2 separate regions of the Homo sapiens genome follow, and region 1 is linked to region 2. The links are contacts of gene promoters, found by promoter capture Hi-C in blood cells and fetal thymus (Javierre and others, 2016). All regions are on one chromosome and are shown on one strand. The core of a region is centred on a gene start or on the middle of the fragment in contact, and the rest is flanking DNA. Distances in the headings are between cores, read along the strand shown. Region 1 overlaps PAIP2 (poly(A) binding protein interacting protein 2). Region 2 holds the start of CTNNA1 (catenin alpha 1).

What was found. The method cuts DNA at HindIII sites, captures the fragments that hold promoters and counts their contacts. A CHiCAGO score of 5 or more calls a contact.
Region 1: a fragment that was not itself captured here is called in contact with the fragment with the promoter of CTNNA1 in region 2 in 1 of 17 cell types (M0 macrophages); the score reaches 5.5 in M0 macrophages.

What each region holds. Positions count from the first base shown.
Region 1 is chr5:139,344,228-139,349,155 of GRCh38, reverse strand. All of the region lies in intron 1 of PAIP2 (poly(A) binding protein interacting protein 2), which reads right to left. Among named protein-coding and RNA genes, the nearest start is that of PAIP2, 4.8 kb to the right of the region's middle. The HindIII fragment of the contact is 8,536 bases long and covers 1-4,928 here.
Region 2 is chr5:138,750,175-138,755,656 of GRCh38, reverse strand. CTNNA1 (catenin alpha 1) reads right to left here and starts at 2,232. Exons shown (of 18, transcript NM_001903.5): 1 at 2,147-2,232. It overlaps CTNNA1-AS1 (CTNNA1 antisense RNA 1), which reads left to right and starts at 1,733. Exons shown (of 2, transcript NR_134244.1): 1 at 1,733-2,134. RefSeq lists enhancers at 1,065-1,631, 1,632-2,199 and a silencer at 1,903-2,342. The HindIII fragment of the contact is 6,352 bases long and covers 1-5,482 here.

The sequences.
Region 1 (4,928 bases), core at 1,279-3,778, 590 kb before region 2:
CCCTTTAAAATTATTTTACTTACACACTTCTTCCCTCCCCAATCTTCAGTTTTGTGGAAGTTAGCACTGGTAGATTCCTACTATTAGGTTTTCTCTTACTATGTTTTAAAATAATTTTTGAATTGAATACTTGACAATACACATTATCATCCATTTATATTTTACTAAATTCATCACTCAGGCCATGCACAGTGGCTCACGCTTGTAATCCCAGCACTTTGGGAGGCTGAGGCAGGCAGATCACCTGAGGTCAGGAGTTCAAGACTAGCCTGGCCAACATGGCGAAACCGTCTCTACTAAAAATACAAAAATTAGCTGGGTGTGGTGGCAGGCACCTGTAATCCCAGCTACTGGGGAGGCTGAGGCAGGAGAATTGCTTGAACCTGGGAGGCAGAGGTTGCAGTGAGCCAAGACTGTGTCCTGCACTTCAGCCTAAGCAATAAGAGTGAAACTCTGACTTTAAAAAAAAAAAAAAAAGATACAAAGATTAGCTGGGCGTGGCCAGGCACAGTGGCTCACGCCTGTAATCCCAGCACTTTGGGAGGCCGAGGTGGGCAGATCATGGGGTCAGGAGATCTAGACCATCTTGGCTAACACGGTGAAACCCCATCTCTACTAAAAATACAAAAAAAAATTAGCCAAGTATGGTGGCAGGCACCTGTAGTCCCAGCTACTCAGGAGGCCGAGGCAGGAAATTGGCGTGAACCCGGGAGGCAGAGCTTGCAGTCAGCTGAGACTACGCCACTGCACTCCAACTTGGGCGACAGAGTGAGACTCCGTCTCAAAAAAAAAAAAAAAAATTAGCCAGGCTTGGTGGTGGTCCCCTGTTGTCCCAGCTACTCAGAAGGCTGAAGCAGGAGAATTGCTCGAGCCTGGGAGGCAGAGGCTGCAGTGAGCCAAGATCACGCCACTGCACCCCAGCCTGGGTGACACAGCAAGACCCTGTCTCAAAAAATATAAATAAATAAATAAATAAATTCATCACTCGTAGTTTTTTTTTTTTTTTTTTTGACATGGAGTCTCACTCTGTTGCCCAGGCTAAAGTGCAGCTGCACGATCTCGGGTCACTGCAACCTCTGCCTCCTGAGTAGCTGGAATTACAAGTGTGTAACACCATGCCTGTGCCTGGCTAATTTCTGTATTTTTAGTAGAGATGGGGTTTCACTATGTTGGCCAGGCTCGTCTAGAACTCCTGAACTCAGGTGATCCGCCCACCTCGGCCTCCCGAAGTGCTGGGATTACAGATATGAGCCACCACACTGGCCGAGTTGTTTCTTATATTCATCATCTTCCCCTAACTTCCTATCTTTGTAAAATAGTTCAAAAGGCTACCTGAGGATTTATCATTCTAAGCCAGTGTCCAAAACATCTTTTTTTTTTTTATGGATGTACCACAGTTTTTTAAAAATTATTATTATACTTTAAGTTTTAGGGTACATGTGCACAATGTGCAGGTTAGTTACATATGTATACATGTGCCATGCTGGTGTGCTGCACCCATTAACTCGTCATTTAGCATTAGGTGTATCTCCTAATGCTACAAAACATCTTTTGCCTTCATGTTTGAATAAAAATGTTGTATGGCCTGGCGTGGTGGCTCAGGCCTGTAATCCCACCACTTTGGGAGGCCAAGGTGGGTGGATCATTTGAGGTCAGGAGTTCTAGAAAAGCCCGGCCAATATGGTGAAACCTTGCCTCTACCAAAAATACAAAAATTAGCCGGGCATGGTGGTGGGCGCCTGTAGTGTCAGCTACTCAGGAGGCTGAGGCAGGAGAATCGCTTGAACTCGGGAGGTGGAGGTAGCAGTGAGCCAAGATCGCGCCACTGCACTCCAGCCTGGGCGACAGAGCGGAACTGTGTCTTAAAAAAAAAAAAAAAAAAAAAAAGTTGTAACATGAGTATTTCCATGTAAATGTGCTAAAAAAAAAATTAGTTGTAACAGAATTCTGAGATGTCTGTGCTTCCTGTTGATAATCTATTGTCAATAATTCCAACTTTCAATGTTGTAGAAAATCAATTTTCTTTCCTTTTAAAAATCCTGTTCTAGGCTGGGTGCAGTGGCTCACACCTATAATCCTAGCACTTTAGGAGGCCAAGGGAGGTGGATCACTTGAGGTGAGGAGTTTGAGACCGGCCCTGGCCAACATGGTGAAACCCCATCTCTAGTAATACAAAAACTAAGCCAGGCATGGTGGCGCACAGCTGTAGTCCCAGCTACTCGGGAGCCTGAGGCAGGAGCACTGCTTGAACCTGGGAGGCAGAGGTTGCAGTGAGCTGAGATGGTGCATTCCAGCCTGAGCAACAGACTGAGACTGCATCTCAAAAAATAAAAATAAGCTGGGCGCAGCAGCTCACGCCCAGCACTTTGGGAGGCCAAAGGGGGTGGATCACGAGGTCAAGAGATTGAGGCCATCCTGGCCAACTTGGGCGAAACCCCGTCTCTAAAAATGCAAAAATTAGCTGGACATGGAGGTGCACGCTTGTAGTCCCAGCTACTCGGGAGGCTGAGGCAGGAGAATTGCTTGAACCTGGGAGGCAGAGGTTGCAGTGAGCTGAGATGGTGCCACTGCATTCCAACCTGAGCATCAGAGGGAGACTGCATCTCAAAAAATAAAAATAGGCCAGGTGCGGTGGCTCACGCCTGTAATCCCAACACTTTGGGAGGCCAAGGGGGTGGATCATGAGGTCAAGAGATTGAGACCATCCTGGCCAACATGGTGAAACCCCGTCTCTAAAAATACAAACATTAGCTGGGCGTGGTGGCACATGCTTGTAGTCCCAGCTACTGGGGAGGCTGAGGCAGGAGAATCACTGGAACCTGGGAGGCGGAGGTTGCAGTGAGCCAAGATTGCGCCACTGCACTCCGGCCTGGTGACAGAGCAAATCTCCGTCTCAAAAAAATAAATAAAAATTTAAAAATCCTGTTCTAGACGACAGCTTAAGATGTTTTAACAAATTCATATATTTCACCAGATTTTGGATAGGTAAGAGCAATTTTTTCCCAGTACTACTGCCTGGAAGTCAGCAAACCCTTTCAATTTATCAACTTAGGGCTTTATTGTGTCTTCAGCTGTTTTTCCCCTCCTGAAATGCCTCTTAGACATATTGGTTTCCAGCAGTGTCCTTTTATATTGTCTATGGAATTTTAAAATACAGAAATCTTTTAGGTTTTACAATCTTTCTCCACTAGTTTCATCTTTTAAGAATTCTCATTAAAATTCAAATATAGGCCTGGTGCGGTGGCTCACGCCTGTAATCCCAGCACTTTGGGAGGCCGAGGTGGGCGGATCACAAGGTCAGGAGATTGAGACCATCCTGGCTAACACGGTGAAACCCCATCTCTCCTAAAAATACAAAAAATTAGCCAGGCATGGTGGCAAGCGTCTGTAGTCCCAGCTACTCAGGAGGCTGAGGCAAGAGAATGGCATGAACCCGGGAGGTGGAGCTTGCAGTGAAATGAGATCATGCCACTGCACTCAGGCCTGGGCAACAGAGCAAGACTCCGTTTCAAAAAAAAAAAAAAAAAAATTCAAGCATAGTTCTCTTCTGTTTCTTTCATTAATCTACCTCCATAGGCACCATCTTTTCTCATTCCCTTGGACTCTGTTTTGAACCACTGTGATCCTTACCTTATTTGCATATTTTTTAATCGTATTTTACGCATATATACGTTTAAGCATACTTCCTTTGGCAGTTAAAGAGGATCGCAACATTTTTCAATTGGTCTGTTTTCCACTCTGAAGTCTGTGAAAAGCACCGAATTTTTTGTTTTACTATTTGGCACAGTAAGGTAACGATTAAAAAACATGGGCTCTGGGCTGGGCGCGGTGGCTCACACCTGTAATCCCAGCACTTTGGGAGGCCAAGGCCGTTGGATCACGAGGTCAGGAGATCGAGACCATCCTGGCTAACACGGTGAAACCCCGTCTCTATTAAAAATACAAAAACAAAAGTAGCCAGGTGTGGTGTCGGGTGCAGCTACTCAGGAGGCTGAGGCAGAAGAATGGCATGAACCCTGGAGGTGGAGCGTGCAGTGAGCCGAGATCGCGCCACTGCACTCCAGCCTGGGCAACAGAGCAAGACTCCGTTTCAAAAACAACAACAACAACAACAACAACAAAAACCCATGGGCTCTGGAACCAGGCTGCTTTACTAACTGTGTGACCATGGCAAGTTACTTAACCTGAGTCTCGGTTTCCTCATCTGTTGCATGGGAATTAATAATAGTACCTAGTTAGAGAACCTAGCACATAACAATTGGCATTAACTATCTCGGTGATTAAATATTTAGGGCAGTTAAAGGTCTCTAGACCAAGGGACAAGGTAAAAATTAGAGATCTTAAATCTACAGAGGTGAAACAATGTCACAAGAAAATCCCAAAGTCTACCCTAATCTCAACTGTAGTGTAACAAGGGTAATTAGGTGAGAGCAAGAATGGGTCATCCTAACTGATAAAAGCTCAAGTACATTAGAAATGCCACCCAAATTTATACAAACTGATATAAGAAGCAGAGGCTATTCAAATTCTCCAAACGTGTGCCCATCCAATATGGTGGCCATCGGCTACACAGATCTATTTAATTAAAATTTAGTTCTTCATTTACACTAGCCACATCTCAAGTGCTCATAACCACACACAGTACCTACATCATTGGACAGCACCACTCTAAACAATGAAAAAATTAAGAAAAAAGGGAGTTTTTTGGAACTGAACCTTAGCCTATATCAAATGCAAACTATTCATGCACCTGTGCAACAGGTGGTCTAGATCACAAAGGCAATGACTTGGACAACTTTAATCTTAGACCACAGTCAGAAGACGTAGGTTCAAATCCCAGCTATGCTACATAGCCACCTTAAAGTACCCTAGACCTGTCACTAAATCACACAGCACCACATAATGGTTAAGAGCATAGAATCTCTGGA
Region 2 (5,482 bases), core at 983-3,482:
TTAGCACATAAGGCTGATGACAGAAGAGACTGCACAGAGCAGTGATTCTCATCTTGGAGGAGGGTACCTCTCATCTCTAAGTCACTATATGAAATGAGATATCACTGATGGGAGTGAAGGTGATGCCACATCAGTGGTGTGGAGGACAAAGATACTTTGGAAAGAACCCTGGGTACGAGAGGAAAGAGTGAGGGCGAGGAAAAGAAAGAAACTGAGATGAGTCAAAAGGAAAAGAAAACCAGGAGAGTGATATCACAATTCCCCAAACTCCTATGCCCTTTTATGCTTCTCATGACTTTCTCCCTTCACTTAAAAAAAACTCGACTCATGTTTCATCCAGATCAAATGCCACCACCTCCTGAAAGCCTTTCTGGACTTACCCAAGTAAAACTTATTAGCCCCCTCTCCGTGCCTCTACAAGTTTCTTTTGTTGTTACTATTAGGTAAGATTTGACTCAGACAATAGTTTCATTAGTACTGTTAAGGCACTTACTGCAGTCCGCTCTGTACTACACCTGGGGTGTGTGTCTCCCCTATTACACTGTGAGCTCTTAGGTGGATTAAAAAATTATTCTTTCGCTGAATAAATATCCAGATGGGGTCAGGCACCCTGGCTCAGGCCTGTAATCACAACACTTTGGGAGGCTGAGGCAGGAGGACCACTTGAGCCCAGGAGTTCGAGACCAGCTTGGGCAAGACAGCGAGACACCATCTCTACCAAAAATACAAAAATTAGACGGATGTGGTGGCGCGTGCCTGTAGTCCCAACTACTTCGGAAGCCGAGGTGGGGGGATCACTTGAGCCCAGGAGACAGAAGCCGCAGTGAGTCATGATCGTGTCACTGCGCTCCAGCCCGGGCGACGGAGACCCCGTCTTTAAAAAAAATGTTTGTTCAAAAGTCCAGATTGGTAAATAATTAGGCAGAAACTATAGGTAACTCCTACACTCATTCTTCATTCTTCCTGTAAAACAAAATAACACATCCTAATTAATTCGATTTATAAATTCCGTTCCTTAAAGTAACACCCACCTGTCCAGTATTTAAAAATCACTGCTGACTAAACACAAATATTCGCTCCACAAAATGCCTATCCTGTCCCAACAATGATGTAAGCATTTCCTTCATCATAAATATAAAATGCCCCGAATTTAGTCGTAGACTTGACATATCTCGCTCTTTTCCAAATAATTGTAAATTCTGTACAAAACACACGCACCAAAAAAATGTCACCAAGATGCAAGAGGACGTAAGAGGGAGTCAACCTTGGAACTGGGCCAACCGCCGCCTGCATTACTGGGAAGCCACTGCTGCCAAGCAAAGGTCAGGCATTCATTCAGGCAACATTTTTTCCAACAAGTGCTTCACACTCGCACGCACACACACGCTCCTTTAAAAGTCAACAACAATTAAAAAAAAAAAAAAACCTCTCTAATGCCACTCCTGAAAACTAGGGCTGAAAGCTAAGTGCGTCCAACCGACAAGAAACCCAGGAAAGCTGAGTAATCCCCGAGTCCAAGTGGACGGTCACGCCAAAAGTCCACACGGGTGTGGCCCACCTACGGCGAAGCTGTATGGGAGAAGCCCGGGCTCCAGCCTCCCGGTTCGCCGAGCCCGCGTCCCCGCCGCCCCATCGGGAAGTCTCAGCGGCCGGGAAGGGGGAGGGGGCAGGAACGCCTCGGAGCCGGACGACAATCACTTCCCGGGAAAGCGGCTCCCAGACAAGCCGCCCCAGGGAAGGAAGGCGGCCGAGGGGCCCGGCGCGGGGCTGCCGCGCGCGCCGAGGCCGCGGTAACAAAGTTTGGAAACCGCGAGAAAACTTTTCCAAGAGGAAACGCGGCGGCGGCGCTGGGCCTATAGTTTCTCCTCCCCAGCCCAGGCGGCCCCCCGACTTCCCGAGCGCTGGGAAGCGCCGGCCGTGCCCGCCCGGGCCCCATACTCGGGCCCTGCGGGGGAAGGGACCGCCGGCCCGACGCGGGTCCCACGCCCGCCCGGGGCCCAATTCCCGGCGACGTCGCCAAAGAAACCGCGCCCCGCCCGCTCGCCCGCCCGCGGCTCGCGGGGCCCAGCTTGGGACGGCCCGGCCCAAGGACCCTCTCGGCCTGGCCCGAGAGACCGCGCCCGCGAGGAGGGAGGTACGAAGTTACCTGCGGCTAGCTGGGCGAGCGCTAAATTCCAGAGGCCCGAAGCAGACGGGCGCTGCTTTGTCTCCCTCCAGTCCGGCTAGGAGGAGGAAATGGGCCGCCCCACGCCCCCGCCCCCGGCCCGCCCCCCGCCCGCGGCCCCCGCCCCTGTCCCGGCCCCGCCCGCCCTTCCTGGCACCTCCCTCCGACTCGCTCTTCCCGGCGCCTCCCGCCGCCGCCCCGCCCGCTCCTCCCGGCCGTTCCGGCCTCCGCTTTTGGGGAAAGGGAAGGCCCCCACCGCGAAGAGAGTCTGGCAACGCCGGACCGGGACCCCCGAGGGACCTCTTCCTCCCCGCCGCCCACCTCAGAATTCCTTCCTCCCCGGCCCCTAGTGGGAGCTTAGGCCGGGAGTGACCCCTGAGAGGGAGGAGGAGCGGTGACTCCTGGAACAGCCCGCGGGCGGAGAGGGCTGCGCGAGGGCAGGTGAGTCACCGCTCCGCGCACAGGTGAGGCTCAGGGGCGGCCTCGCGCGGGCCCCCACCCCGGCGGAATCCCAGAGACGCGACCAGGGGTACTGGGCACGCTCCCCTCAAGAGTGTCACAGGTGTCCCGGAGTCACAGTCTTCTGGAAAAGTGATCTAGGCCAACTACCTGGCTTTACAGAAGGAGAAGCGGAGGCTAAGGAAAGGCCCCACAGCTTCGGGACACAGTGGAACTAGAATCTGACTCTCAGGACCTTTCATAATGTGAGGTGGAAGCGCCCCTAGAATTCACCTAACCCGTCCCCTCACTCCACAGATGGAAACACCCGAAGCCCTCTTGATCAAGGACTTTTTTTTTTTTTTAAGACGGGGTCTCCCTCTGTCGCCCAGGCTGGGGTGGAGTGTCGCGATCACGGCCCACTGCAGCCTCAAATCCCTGGACAACCGACCCTCCCACCTCAGCCTCCGGAGTAGCTGGAACTACAGACACAGAGTCTCACTATGTTGCCAGGCTGGTCTCAAACTCATGGGCTCAAGAAATCCTCCTCAGCCTCCCAAAGTGCTGGGATTACAGGCTAGAGCCACCTTGCGGGGAGGACATTTACAAACACAAAAGAGGCACCGCAGCAGCTGTCCCTTTTTGGGCTTGTTCCCGCCCCGCCCCCAGCACGTCCCCCCTCCCAGCTTGTCCCCCTCCTCCAACAAATTTGAGGGACCTGACTTCTATCTCTATTCCTCTGGTCATTTGGGGCATTTTATTCTTACCCTTTCTTATCTTCATAGTGAATACTCCAAAAACAAAAGAAAACAAAATTACAAAGCAAACAAACAACACAAAAAAACAAAAACTACTACATGCTCACTATCATCCTGGTATAGAAAACCCTAATGATGTTTCCCCTGCTCACGGGATGATGAATAAGATAGATTTCAGTATTGGCCTATAAACCTGAATAATGCAAGACGACGATGTCCACTGCTGGCCTTGTGCTGAATAGAGAGCAGGGTGCTAGGGAGACCTGCCCTTACCGTGTTTACCCTCTACTCCTCACATCTCCCTCTCCCCCAAGGGAATATAAACTTCTGGAAAGCAGGAGCTGTATCTCCTGCAGCACCCAGCACATTGCCCATCCCCTAGGGAGTGCCTAGTGAACATCTGTGGGTGAATGTGCCCACTGTAATTCAAAGTACTGTGGGCCTGTGCTAGTTAACAGATGCTGACAAAGGGCAATAGGACCATGAAGTGGGGAGAGAACAACCTTTAAGAAAAAGAGGATGGGCACAGTGGCTCACACAAGTAATCCCAGCACTTTGGGAGGCCAAGATGGGTGGATCACATGAGCTCAGGAGACCAGCCTGGGCAAAATGATAGAACCCTTGTCTACAAAAAAATACAAAAACATAGCTGGGTGTAGTGGCACCTACCTGTAGTCCCAGCTACTTGGGAGGCTGAGGTGGGAGGATCGCTTGAGCCTGGGAGTTCAAGGCTGCAGTGAACCATGACTGCACCACTGCACTCCAGCCTGGGCAACACAGTGAGACTCTGTCTCAAAAAGAAAAAGAAAAAGGCAAACCCTGACAAGGTCATTCTTGTCCAACTACCCCTGTCCTGTTTCTGGCTGCAGGGTCTTTGCTCCTGTAGTCTCCTCTGCCTAGAGTGGCTTTGGCGTCCCTCTACTTCACCTGGCTAACTCAGAACATAATTCATATATTTTGGATATTTGTCCCTGCCCAAATCTCACATTGAAATGTAATCCCCAGTGTTGGAGGTGGGGCTGGTGGGAGGCATTTGGGTAATAGAGGAGGATCCCTCATGGCTTGGTGCTGTCCTCCAGGTACTAAGGGAATTCTCATGAAATGTAGTCGTTTTAAAGTGTAGCACCGGCCAGGCACAGTGGCTCACACCTGTAATCCCAACACTTTTGAGAAGCCAAGGTGGGCGGATAGCTTGAGCCCAGGAGTTCGAGACCAGCCTGGGCAACATGGTAAAAACCCATCTCTACAAAAAAATACAAAAAAATTAGCCAAGCAGGCTGGGCACCGTGGCTCACGCCTATAGTCCCAGCACTTCAGGAGGCCAAAGCGGGCAGATCATCTGAGGTCAGGAGTTCAAGACCAGCCTGGGGCAACATGGTGAAACCCCATCTCTACTAAAAGTACAAAATTAGCAGGGCATGGTGGCATGTGCCTGTAATCCCAGCTACTCGGGACGCTGAGGCAGGAGAATCATTTGAACCTGGGAGGCAGAGGTGGAGCCGAGATCACGCCATTACACTCCAACCTTGGCAACAAAAGCAAAAGTCTGTCTCAAAAAAAAAAAAAAAGCCAGGCATGGTGGTGTGTGCCTGTAGTCCCAGCTACCTGGGGGGCTCAGGTGGGAAGATCACCTGAGCCTGGGGAGATTGAGGCTGCAGTGAGCCATGATTGTGCCACTACACTCCAGCCTGGGCAACGGAGTGAGACCCTGTCTCAAAAACAAAAAGATGTGGCACCTCAGCCCCCTCCTGCTCCTGCTTTCAGCATGTAATGTGCCTGCTCCAGCTTCACCTTCCACCATGAGTAAAAGTTCCCTGAGGCCTCTCCAGAAAGTAGAGCAGATGCCCAGGCCTTGCTTATACAGCCTGCAGAACCATGAGCCAATTAAACGTTTTTTCTTTTTTCTTTTCTTTTTTTTTTTTTTTTGTGTGTGTGTGTCTGTGTGTGACGGAGTTTCACTTTTGTCACCCAGACTGCAACCTCTACCTCCTGGATTCAAACGATTCTCCTGCCTCAGCTTACCAAGTAGCTGGGATTACAGGTGCACACCACCACGCCCGGCTAATTTTTGTATTTTCAGTAGAGACGGAGTTTTACCGTGTTGGCCAGGCTGGTCTCGAAC